2 separate regions of the Homo sapiens genome follow, and region 2 is linked to region 1. Evidence: promoter capture Hi-C in human tissues and cell types (Jung and others, 2019). All regions are on one chromosome and are shown on one strand. The core of a region is centred on a gene start or on the middle of the fragment in contact, and the rest is flanking DNA. Distances in the headings are between cores, read along the strand shown. Region 1 holds the start of TRAM1 (translocation associated membrane protein 1). Region 2 overlaps MSC-AS1 (MSC antisense RNA 1).

Region 1 (5,711 bases), core at 1,617-4,116:
AGAGTTCCTCAAAACGTCAAACATAAAGTTGCCTTATGATCAGCAATTCCACTGCTAGGTATATACCCAAAGGAATTGAGTTCAAACAAAAACTTGTACACAAATGTTCATCAACTGATGAATAAGATGTGCTATAGCCATACAATGGAATATTATTTGGCCATAAAAAGGAGTGAAGTACTGATACATGTTACAACATCGATGAACCTTGGAAACATTATCTTCAGTGAAAGAAGTCAGTCACAAAAGATCATGATTCTATTTACATGTAATGTCCAAGCTGGCCATGGTGGTTCACACCTGTAATCCCAGCACTTTGGGAGGTGGGAGAATTTCTTGAGGCCAGGAGTCCAAGGTTGCAGTGAGCTATGATCATGCCACTGTACACCAGCCTAGGCAACAGAGCAAGACCCCATCTCAAAAAAAGAAAGAAAAGAAACAAAGAAAGAACAAAAAGAAATGTCCACAATAAGCAAATATAGAGAGGTAGAAAATAGGTCAGTTGTTGCCAAGGGCTGCCAAGACTATGAGGGGAAATGGAGAGTTACTGGTAATGTGTATAAGGTTTCTTTTAGAGATTACAAGAATGTTCTAAAGTTATATTATGGTGATTGTTGCACAACTTTGCAAACATACTAAAAACCACAGAATTGAATATCTCAAATAGCTGAACTATATGACATAAATTATACTGCAATAAAACTATTTCAAAAATGCAATTGAATCATAAAAGATAAATTGCTTAGGTCACAGAATTCAGTGAAGCTTTCGAAGAGGTCATGTGTAAATGAGACATGAAGGAACAGCAGGAGCCTGCTGTGTCTATGAAAGGACAGGAGAAAACATTCCAGACAGAGACAGCAGTACACGCAAAGGCAGGGGAGAGCATGGGAAGAGAGCATGTCATGGCATGTACAGTCGTCCCTCAGTCTTCACAGGGGACTGGTTCCAGGGCCCCCGCGGATACCGAAATCCACCCATGCTCAGGTGCCTTATATAAGATGATGCAATATTCTGGTAAAGAATATCCTAAATCCTCCCACAGACCTCCAATCATTTCTAGATTACTTATAATAACACAACATAACTGCTAAATAAATAGTTGGCTGTACTATATTATTTAGGGAATAATCATGGGGGGGTAGTCTGTAGATGTTCAGTACAAATGCAGTTTTTTTCTTGAATATCTTTTACTCCAGGTTGGTTGAATCCACAGTGTATGCGGCACCCACAGATATGGAGAGGCAACTGTATAGTGTGTGTAGTCAATAATGCTGGTACAGAGATTATGGCCTGTAGATGCAGGGCTCCAGTCTGTTGGGGTAGGCAAGGACCAAATCAGAAAGGGCTATTTCATCATGCTAGCTTTCCATGAAGGGAAAGGGAACCCGCTGAAAAACTTTCTGCCAGTAGAAGCATCATTCTAGTATAAACGTTGAAAGGTGATCTGAAGGGAAATGAAACTAGTGATTGCCCAGAAGGAGGAAAAGAATAATCCCTGACTAAATTTATAAAGCCCTTACTCCCCGCTAAGCAGTTTCCTTCAATCATCTCATTTAATCACTAAAATGAGCAATAGTTATCCCCACTTTATAGATGATATCCACAGGGCTTGCTCCCTCACCTCCTGCAGGTCTTCAGGCAAGTATAAGTGCCTCGCACTTTCCTATTCCCCTTGCTTTATTTTTCTCCTGGTTGCTCAACTCAATTTAACATCTGTTTCGCTTTTGAAATCTTGTTTAAAGATTCTCTCCCACACTAGAATGATAAGTCCCTAGGAATAATTTAATTTGTATTTCAGTTCTGTATCCCCAGTGCCCAGGACACAGTCAACCCTCAGTAAGTACATAAATGAATACATTTTTAAAAATGAGGAAATCGGGTCCCATAGAGATTAAGTAACTTGTCCTTGATCGTACAAGTAATAAGTGGCAGAATTCTGATTTAACAACCCACATTCTTAAACCACTAAGTGGTTACACCAGAGTTGTAATATTGTAGGCAAGAGGCAAGTACCCTCGGACTGCGGTAGTGGGGAAGCGGGGTGATAGGTCTGCCTCGAATTGGTGATGACTGGATGTGGAAGGGCGCTGAAAGGGCTCAATCTAGCATGACTTTGGTTTCTACATTTGGCTTATGGGTAAACAGGAGAGCAATTCTTCAGGAAAAAGAATACAAAGGACTCCAGGTTTGGGCAAAACGATAAGAGGAGGACGTGTCTTAATCCACGATCCTTTTTAACTCTTTTACTATTTCCCTTAGATTACTAAAACATGTTGTTAATTTGAATATATGTGAAGCCAGTAAACCCAAACTGATCCCTTCGTCTTCAGTCTGAGGCCAGTGGGGGATAGGGGTGGGGATGGGGACGGGGATGGGGGTGGGGACGGAGAGGCAGACCAGAATAGGGTCAGCTCTTTTTTTTTTTTTAAGTTAGTCCAAACTTACCAAGAGTAGAAATAAGTCCCCAGCAGTGCTTAACTCTGAGGTAATTTTTAAGGCAGATGCTAAAACTGGAGAATACACCGTACCCTTGTGGAGTCAGGTAGTATTCGTAGTTTTAGATTATCCTGACGGTGTTAGTCACTTGTAGAAGTGACAATGTGCAACAGGCCACTGACACCCAATCCCTGGATGGCCAGGAGGGCAGGAGGGCACCCGGCCGCGGCCTCAGGCTGCTGAGCAGGCGCAGGAAGCTCGCGCCTCAAACGACTCCCAAACCCGGGCCCGGCGCGAAGCAGGGAAGCGCCGCTCACATTCCTGCACGCTCGCCCGGCCGCGGGCCAGCGGCCTCCGGTCCCCAGGTGGCGCTGTGGGCTCGCGGAGGCGGCCGCGGCACCAGGGAGCGTCGTCTCCCTGGTGCGCATGCTCGCCCCCGCTGCGGGCTAGCTGTTGTGTTTTTTTTTTTCCCCCGGGCGGCCCGGCGGCTGCGTACTGGCTGTGGGATGGGAAGTGAAGCCCCAGCGAGCGGCTGCAGCGGGGCCGTGAGGAGCAGCCAGCGGGAGGCGGCGGCGAGTCGGTGAGCAGCTGGGAAGAGCAGAACCGGGGCGGAGCACCTGCAGGCGCGGGCGGCGGCCCCACCATGGCGATTCGCAAGAAAAGCACCAAGAGCCCCCCAGTGCTGAGCCACGAATTCGTCCTGCAGAATCACGCGGACATCGTCTCCTGTGTGGCGATGGTCTTCCTGCTGGGGCTCATGTTTGAGGTGAGCCCGCCCCGAGTCCCAACCGCCTGCCCCGCCACCTCCAGCCCGGGCCCGGGCTCCAGATGCCAGCCCCGGCTTCTCCGCCCAGGACGCGGGGGGCTCGGGCCCGGGGTGGGTGCAGACCCCCAGTCCCTGAGGTGCAGGCCTTCCCTGCCCTGCCCCACGTCGGCGGCAGCTCCCCGGCGGCCGGCCCGGAGATGCAAAGTCCCGGTGGGCCTCATCGCGGCCCGCAGGGGGTGGGGACCGCCGCGTCGCCCCCTTCCTGACCCGCCGCCGCCCCCTCCCGCAGGCTGCGCGGCGCAGTTCCTGGTTCCCGCGAAGGGTTACGTGGCAGCCGGCGAGGGGCCTGCGGGCGGGGGCGGCCCCTGCGCTGCCGAGCTGGCTCGGGGCGGGTGGGCGGACTTGGGGGGACTGCCAGCCTCGGCCGCGGTGAGCGTCAGCCCCGCGAGGGCCGGGGAAGGCCGAGGCCCGGCCCCCGGGTCTGAGGAGTGCCGGCCTGGAGACCACAGGCCCCGAGTGACAGGGGAGCCCCCGGTAGCTCCGAGATTGGGGTGAGCGAGAAACCGGAGTCAGGCATCTGCTTTCGACTTGAAGGGCGGTGGCCGCCGGGCACCGGCGCAGTGGAGGCGCGCCAGATTGTTTTCATTTTTGTCTTTTAAACTGATATTATTACCAGTTAACGAACTTTTTGCCCTGACGCTTTAAAGAAACAAGGTCTGATGGATAAATCGAGGTTCTGAACAGCGGTGCCAAGGAATCGAGTAATTTTGTTTCTTGAAGTAGGAGAGGATGGGAATGTCAGGAGTGTGTAAATTCTCTTCCCACGTATCTAGTATTTTGATGACTTATTTAACAGCTGTTGAATGTGGATGATAAACTTTGCAAGGTGAACGAGTAACATCCTACGTTTTTCCCCTCGCTCCCCAATACACACGCTCATTCCTTTGCTTTTTTCCCTTTTTAATTTTTCTCTGGAGCCTTTATGTCTCAGTAAATATACAAATTATTTTGCTCCTGCCTTGTTTTGTCTCCTCTCTCCTGCATGTAACAAGTGAGAGTAGAGATTTTGGAGTATTTTTACGAGTCTGTATTTCCAGAGTCTAGGATAGTGCCTGGGACATAGGAGTGCTTAAAAAAAGATGAGCGACGTTAAGAATCCTTGAGAAAACCTAATGGAATGATATTACCAGTGACCAAAAGGTGAATACATTTTCTTTTTAATGGAGCATATTTGTTTTTTTTTTTAATTTTAAAATTAAATAATATTTTAACCTTATTTTCGCCTCTCATCAAATGGGCTTTTCTGGATCTAGATACAGATATTATTTACTCCTGATTGTGTCATGCATGTTTGAAACCACTGCTAAGGAGGTAGCAGGTATAGTTAAAGGGTAGGTAGAAGGAAACTAACATTCTCAAGCTTTAAGTCTGGGCTGTGCCACCTACCTACTGGGTGACCCAAGTCTGAGCCTCAATTTTTCTGCTCTTTATCAGGAAATAATATCACCTGTACTGTTCTCCTCACAGCCATTTTTTGCAAGTATCAGATGATATGGTGTGAAGGTAAATACAGTGCTAGGCCTGGTGCTCTGGCTTATGCCTGTAAACATCCCAACACTTTGGGAGGCCAAGGCAGGAGAATCACTGGAGCCCAGGAGTTCGAGACCAGCCTAGGCAACATAGGGAGACCCTGTCTCTACAAATGATTTTTTAAAAATTAGCCAGGAGTGATAGATAGCACGCACCTGTGGTCTCAGCTGGGCGGCTGAGGTGGGATAATTACTTGAGCCCAGGAGGTGGAGGCTGCGGTGAGCCAAGGTTTCACCACTGCACTCCAGCCTGAAGGACAGAGCAAGAAGACCCTGTCTCAAAAAAAACCCAATGTTAAACATTTGTATTCACTTTCTGAATTTGATACTTGCATGTACTTTCTGCTTTGACCTTAAAGTAGTACTTTAATATATGTAGTATATTCAATTTTCTGTAACTTGTCATAAACCATCTCCACATGGTAAGAATTCCTGACTTTAAAAACATATTTTAGGGGTACTGTGACCTGCAAGGTATATTTGCAGTGCTTTGAATGAAATGAAATATAAATCAGAAATTCTGACACATAGTATAACTTTGATTTTATATAAACTATTTTACATTCTCTTACTATATTTCTAGGGAAGTCCACCACCTATACCTTGCCTCACATGTTAGTGATTTTTTTAAACAGTGGATTTTCACCTTTATATAAATTTATAAAATTTGAAAATCTAAATAGACAAAAATACTAAATAGAGGTTTTTAAGTCAATTCAAAAGTGAGTGTTAAAGTGATACACAAAAGTGAAGTTTGTGCGAGTTCTTCCTTTTTCTTACCATATATTAAGGTGTTAGGATTTCAAAGCATGTTATCTATATATAGGACTTTGTAGACTAGGTTAGTTTTGCTATTCGACTTTTAAAACAATTGCTGCTGAATCTCAAAGTTAACATAATTATAGAATTACAGTACT
Region 2 (5,874 bases), core at 2,594-5,093, 1.4 Mb before region 1:
AAAGGTGTCCAGCTAGGAGGCAAAAGGAGGCACGATCCTGAGCTGCAAACATCAAGGAAACCGCTGAGGGAAACAGCGCCCTCTAGGGGTGTAATTGATATTGAGCTGGAACCAGAAGACCTCATTGAGACCTCCCTTGTGTGCAGGAGGATCTCTCATCTCAGGAAAACCTACAGCGACATTAACCTATGCTTCTGCTCCTCTTTCTATTGAGATTTAATATCGCAAGTCCAAAGGCAGATGGTGGCACTTATTTAAAAAGTTTCCATTTCAATCGCTTCAGATAATACAGGCTGCCAATAAATAGATGCACAAAACAGGTGTATGAAGTGGTATGGTAGTCCTCCGTTATCCCTAGTTTCTCTTTCTAAAGTTTCAGTTATCAGCGGTCTACCACGATCAGAAAATAGGTGAGTACAGTACAATAAGATATTTTGACAGTAAGGGACTACAGTCACATAAATTTAGTATATTGTTATATAATTGCCCTATTTTATTATTAGTTGTTATTATTATTTCTTTTTGTGCCGGATTTGTAAACTAAACTTTATTATAAGTATGTATGTATGTATGTATGTATGTGAGAAAACATAGTATATATATATACACACACACACACACACATACATATATAGGGTTCGGTGCTATTCATGCTTTCAGGCATCCACTAGGGGTCTTGGAACGTATCCCCCCACAGAAAAGGGAGGAACACTATACTTTTATGTGAATCAGAAATACTTAATAGCTTAAATAAGACATAATCCGCTCTCCAGAACCAAGTCTGAAAAAAATAAGTATTGAGGGAGAAAACTCTCAGAAGAGACAGTTATCAGTGGTAATTTAGGTTGTTTTAAAAATTCATGGAGAAGAGGATGAAGAAGACGGAGATTATCACTCATGGGCAGCATGTCTGTGCTTGTGTCAGTACCAGCAAAACCTGAAAGGAAAACTTCACCTGCACCTTCTAAACTTGCAACAATCTAATTTGAAGCAATATCAAGGCTCAGGAATCTATTAGAATGACAACCAGCTTCTACAGCCCCACAGGAACAGTTACTCCCAAACTCAGATTTCTCAACAAACATTACTGCAGGCATATTCCAGAGGCAAAGCAGGGATCCTCAGTTAAGGTCTTTCACAAAAGGGAAAAATATGAGGAAAAGTCAAATGGCTCAACAAAGGCAGTTTGTTTTTCTGTCTACAAGTCAACTCAGTAATGGCAAACCCCCTGTAAATCAGTGGAGATCCATATGCCTTGCAGATGCAGATCATTAATTCTGAAGGAACCAAAACTGTCTAAGGCCAGGGGAAGTGGCTCATGTCTATGATCCCAACACTTTGGGAGACCACGGTGGGAGGATTGCTTGAGTCCTGGGGTTCGAGACCAGTCTGGGCAATACAGTGAGACCCCATATCTACAAAAATTTTAAAAATAGCCTGTCATGGTGGCAGGCACCTGTAGTCCCAGCTACTCAACAGGCTGAAATAGGAGGATCACTTGAACTCAGCGGGGTCAAGGCTTCAGTGAGCCGTTATTGCACCACTGCACTCCAGCCTGGACAACAGAGCAAGTCCCTGTCTCAAAAATAAAAAAGAAAAAGAAAAAAAACTGTCTAAAGAATTCATAATCGAAATAATCCAGAAGTTGAGGTTCAAGACTGCAGGTATCTGTACTTTCAGGATACCACAGGCAGACACAACATCTTTCATAATCCGATAAACCTCCAAGCATCAAGTTTTCTGTGATGTTGTATGGTGTCCACAGTCCTTGAGATACAGGTTAGGTAGTGCAAATAACTAAAACCAGTAAGCCAGACTGCAGTCTTCAGCAAGGGACTTAAAGTCTCTTCTACTGCAGCAGTCTCTTCTACCCCAGCAGTTGATCAGCAAGCATCTTCATGACCCAGATGGTTGCCTTTCAAATTCTGAGTGTGGTAAAAGAAACCAGAAAACTCTTGGAGAGCTGTAATACTGAATTGTAAACATGTGTGCATTTATCACCATCCTGTATCACTTTGAAAACTTTCCCAATTATAAATATGCTAAAATCACCCAAATTTAAATAAGATGGAGGATTTATTAAATCAAATAGTCTTTTTACTTGTCGCAGGGCAAATGCTGAAAGTGGGACTCACCCCAGGAGGCCACGTGGGTTTTTGGCTTTCTGCAGGAAAAAATTCAAGAGCAAGCCAATAGAGTAAAGTGAAAGCAAGTTTATTAAAAAGTAAAGGAATAAAAGAGTGGTTACTCTATAGGCAGTGCAGCCCTAAGGGCTGCTGATTGGCTATTTTTATGGTTATTTCTTGATCATATGATAAATAAGGGGTGGATTATTCATGAGTTTCCTGAGAAAGGAGCAGGGGATTCCCAGAACTGAGGGCTCCTCCCACTGAAAGACCATATAGGTTAACTTCCAGATGTTACCATGGCATTTGTAAACTGTTGTGACACCAGTGGGCTCTTCCTTTAGTATGCTAATGTATTATAATTAGCATATAATGAGCAGTGAGGATGACCAGAAGTCACTTTTGTTGCCATCTTGGTTTTGGCAGATTTTGGCTGGCTTCTTTATTGCATCCTGTTTTACCAGCAAGGTCTTTGTGATTCGTATCTTGTGAAACAAGTCCTGCTGAACTCCTGTCTCATTCCCAAGTATAAAACCAAGTTGTGCCCCTAAAACCTCTATAGCATCCCAGTCTAGTGGTCAGCTCTGCCATTCCTTCTCAGTTGATAAGATAATGAAATGGCCCTTCACTCATCCAAATTACTGTAAACTTAACACCCAGTGTGCAGGATCTGACTGTACCTTTTAACATCCTTTGTTTCTATGCTGCCACATGAGTCCTTGAAATGCAGAAGACACAAGCCCATAAAGGACACTGTCAGTAAATAACCAGCCAGAGGATCAGAGATTTTGAAAGTTTCCATCAATTAGTCAATGACAACGCACAGAGCTTTGTCAAACCTTTGAAATATGGAACATGTTAATTTCACAATATGAAGTAAATTGCTTATGGGACATGCTTTTTTTTGCATGCTTTTAAAGTGGTTTCTATATTTTTTAACTGTAAAGAAAAGTCAACAAGAGATAAAGCTAAGTTCTACTAAAACATTTTGAGCTATGTTTTATATTGCCATTTTAAGTCTTAGCACTTAGAATGAGAATCATCAAAATGTGGTGACTCTTTGTTAACAAAGATAATACCACGAGGGCTTCACTGATGTTCTTTGGGAGTGGAGATTCATCAAGTGGAGTATCTCGAAAAAGCTGGATTGCTGCTTTGAGTTTTCCCCAAGAAAATTCAATTATCATATGCCAGTTTGAAAACAGAATAAAGCCCCAAAGTGCCAAGTGGCTTAAAGTAGTCATTGCATTCTATTTTTTGTTAAGTTTTTCTTTAATTGGAAAAGTATTAGGGTCAATAGAGCCAAAAGGTGGGGTCGGCCTTTCAAGTTTGGCACAGTTTTGCTGCTTGGGTACAGTGTTTTTTAAAATTCAGGTTCTTAACTTCTTGGAAAAGATGAATGGGAAAGAAATCAGAATGGGGGTATTTTGATTAAATTATTTAGAATGGCAATTACAAAAATAAGTACGTGTTTTAAATGTTTTCATTTATTGTTATGATTTGCATTTAAATAATTATTTTTGGAAATAATTTTCAAGAAAAAATATATGTATATATACATAAAGTATCAGAAAATAGTAATTAGCTGCAAAATTTAAGCTTACAGGGATGAGTAAATATATTTTTACAGTCTGAAAAGCAACTATTTACAAGTGAATAGTTTATAGCAACTATTTACAAGTGAGTGTACTGAGAGTTATTACTAAAGATAACTTGAAATGTAAAATCTGGCTTTAAAAGTATATTTTAAATGACAGTATAATGTTACACAAATCAGATGGGTAAATAGCAAACTAGGATTATACACTTGAGATATGCTAATATACAGAGTTTCATCTGTTATTAACATTTTTATTAAGACAAGAAGTATTAGATACCTTCTAAACAACGAATGTATCACTGATTTAAAAAAATAACCACTTAGTCACTGAGCAGCTATCATAACCTTCAAAGGAGAAGATTTAAGGCAACACAAACAAAAATATGCTAGCTTAACCTTGCATGTAAATCTTCTGAGAGTCTGCTCTAGACAGAGGTTTCAATTCTGCACCGCCTAATGCGTGTGACCCACAGAATTCCCAGCTGGATTTAGCTTGTCTGCACTGCACTTTTAAAACAAGCTAGAAAAAGGCAAACTCCCTGTTCTTCTGGTGCCATATGTGTATATTTTGGCTATTTCAGGGTATAGGGTAATGGAAAAAAAGCACCCTTTGTTTCATTTTTCATCATAATGAGGCTCCCCATTTGACATGTATGACAATTCTACCAGATAAGACAAGACCAATACAACACAGGGCAGAAACATGAAGAAAAGAATATTTTCTAAGGTCTTCTTGGGCACTACATAGTTGTTTTATGATATTTTAAAATTTATTTTTAACTGATCATGCCCAAAGCCAAACTTTGTTACAAGAGACATCTATAAATATTTACTAATCAACGAATGTTACAACAGACAAGGAACGCAATAGCATGAATGTATTACAACACAGGGTACATGGGCAGATGTTTATGGGAAAATGACTAACCCGTTCATAAATTATCACTGTTTACATTTCAAAGCCCAAGCCAGCTGCTTTGTAATGACAGATTATATCTTCAGTATTGATCACTGACAGCTATAAAAAGTCAGGCTGTTTGGCTTTCACAGGTACGAGTGGTGAACAGAAGATGAAATACCTTATCTCATTCATTTTTCTTAGCAAGGACTCAATTCTATTCAAATTAAAGATACTGCTTCATAACATACTTGTAACTAAAAAATATAGGGTGGATAATTTCTTTTTTTAATTGTTCAGAAATCAAGAATATAATTTAAACAAAATAAGTATGTATTAGTACATGGGAAAAAAGATAAAAAGAAACAAAACAGGCAATATAAGAAAAGCTTAAAAAATTAAGTAAAAGAAAACATCAAGACCTACAAAAATGCAAAAACATGAACAAGACTACACAAGTAAAATAAAATCTATGAGTTCTGACAACCAATCTAAACTTCAGTAAAAAACACAATACTTCCTTTCTGGGTTAAAAAAATGTAATCGCTAGAGAATAATCTAAACTAGTATTATAGAAAGATGAACAAATAAATATACAAATATAAAGAGCAGGAGTGACAAAATGAACTTAACCCAAAGAATGCAAGGGAAAAAATATAAAATTAGGCAAAATTATTGCTTTACACGGACAAAGATTTGACCTACAAGGAAGTCATGAGTTATTAACCTTTTTGCTTTCAATAAGTTACCAAAATATGTCGAGTTATAATTAGTAGAAGTGAATCATTGATGAATATATTGTTGGAGAGTCTTATAACACCTCCATTAGCCTAATCCCAGCTCCACACTTAGGAACTGTGTGACCCGCAAAGGTTATTAGAACACTGTTGCCAAGGAACTAGGAGAGAAGAGTCTGCTAGGACAAGGCACCAGCAGAGAACAGCCACTGCTGGAGAAACACAGGTACCCAAGCTAAGTTTCCAGGTCAAAGCAGGGACCAGATGAAGTCAGGAAGATCAGTCTGTAAAAGATACGAGCATTTCTGAAGCCTTTAAATAGCTGAATACATTGTATAGCGTTACTTCCTCACCTGACCCAGGTTAACCTCTTTTTATGTCAGTCCCCATTTTTCCCTTCCAATTTCTAACATTCATATTCCATTTTGAATAATTAAAAAGTTTTTTAAAAAATTAGTAACTCATGGAACTTGAGTTTGTGGATAGAGAAGGAAAACAATAACTAAGTCTGAA

Evidence for each region. The method cuts DNA at HindIII sites, captures the fragments that hold promoters and counts their contacts. A contact is called where the count stands out against the background at its distance.
Region 2: a fragment that was not itself captured here is called in contact with the fragment with the promoter of TRAM1 in region 1 in 1 of the 25 tissues and cell types used here (lymphoblastoid cells).

What each region holds. Positions count from the first base shown.
Region 1 is chr8:70,605,571-70,611,281 of GRCh38, reverse strand. TRAM1 (translocation associated membrane protein 1) reads left to right here and starts at 2,866. Exons shown (of 11, transcript NM_014294.6): 1 at 2,866-3,205. The coding sequence starts at 3,083. LACTB2-AS1 (LACTB2 antisense RNA 1) reads right to left here and starts at 2,705. Exons shown (of 4, transcript NR_038881.1): 1 at 2,449-2,705. RefSeq lists silencers at 2,700-2,869, 2,950-2,999, 3,060-3,119, 3,170-3,349, 3,370-3,819. The HindIII fragment of the contact is 5,998 bases long and covers 1-5,516 here.
Region 2 is chr8:72,012,938-72,018,811 of GRCh38, reverse strand. All of the region lies in intron 4 of MSC-AS1 (MSC antisense RNA 1), which reads right to left. Among named protein-coding and RNA genes, the nearest start is that of TRPA1, 60 kb to the left of the region's middle. The HindIII fragment of the contact is 5,950 bases long and covers 869-5,874 here.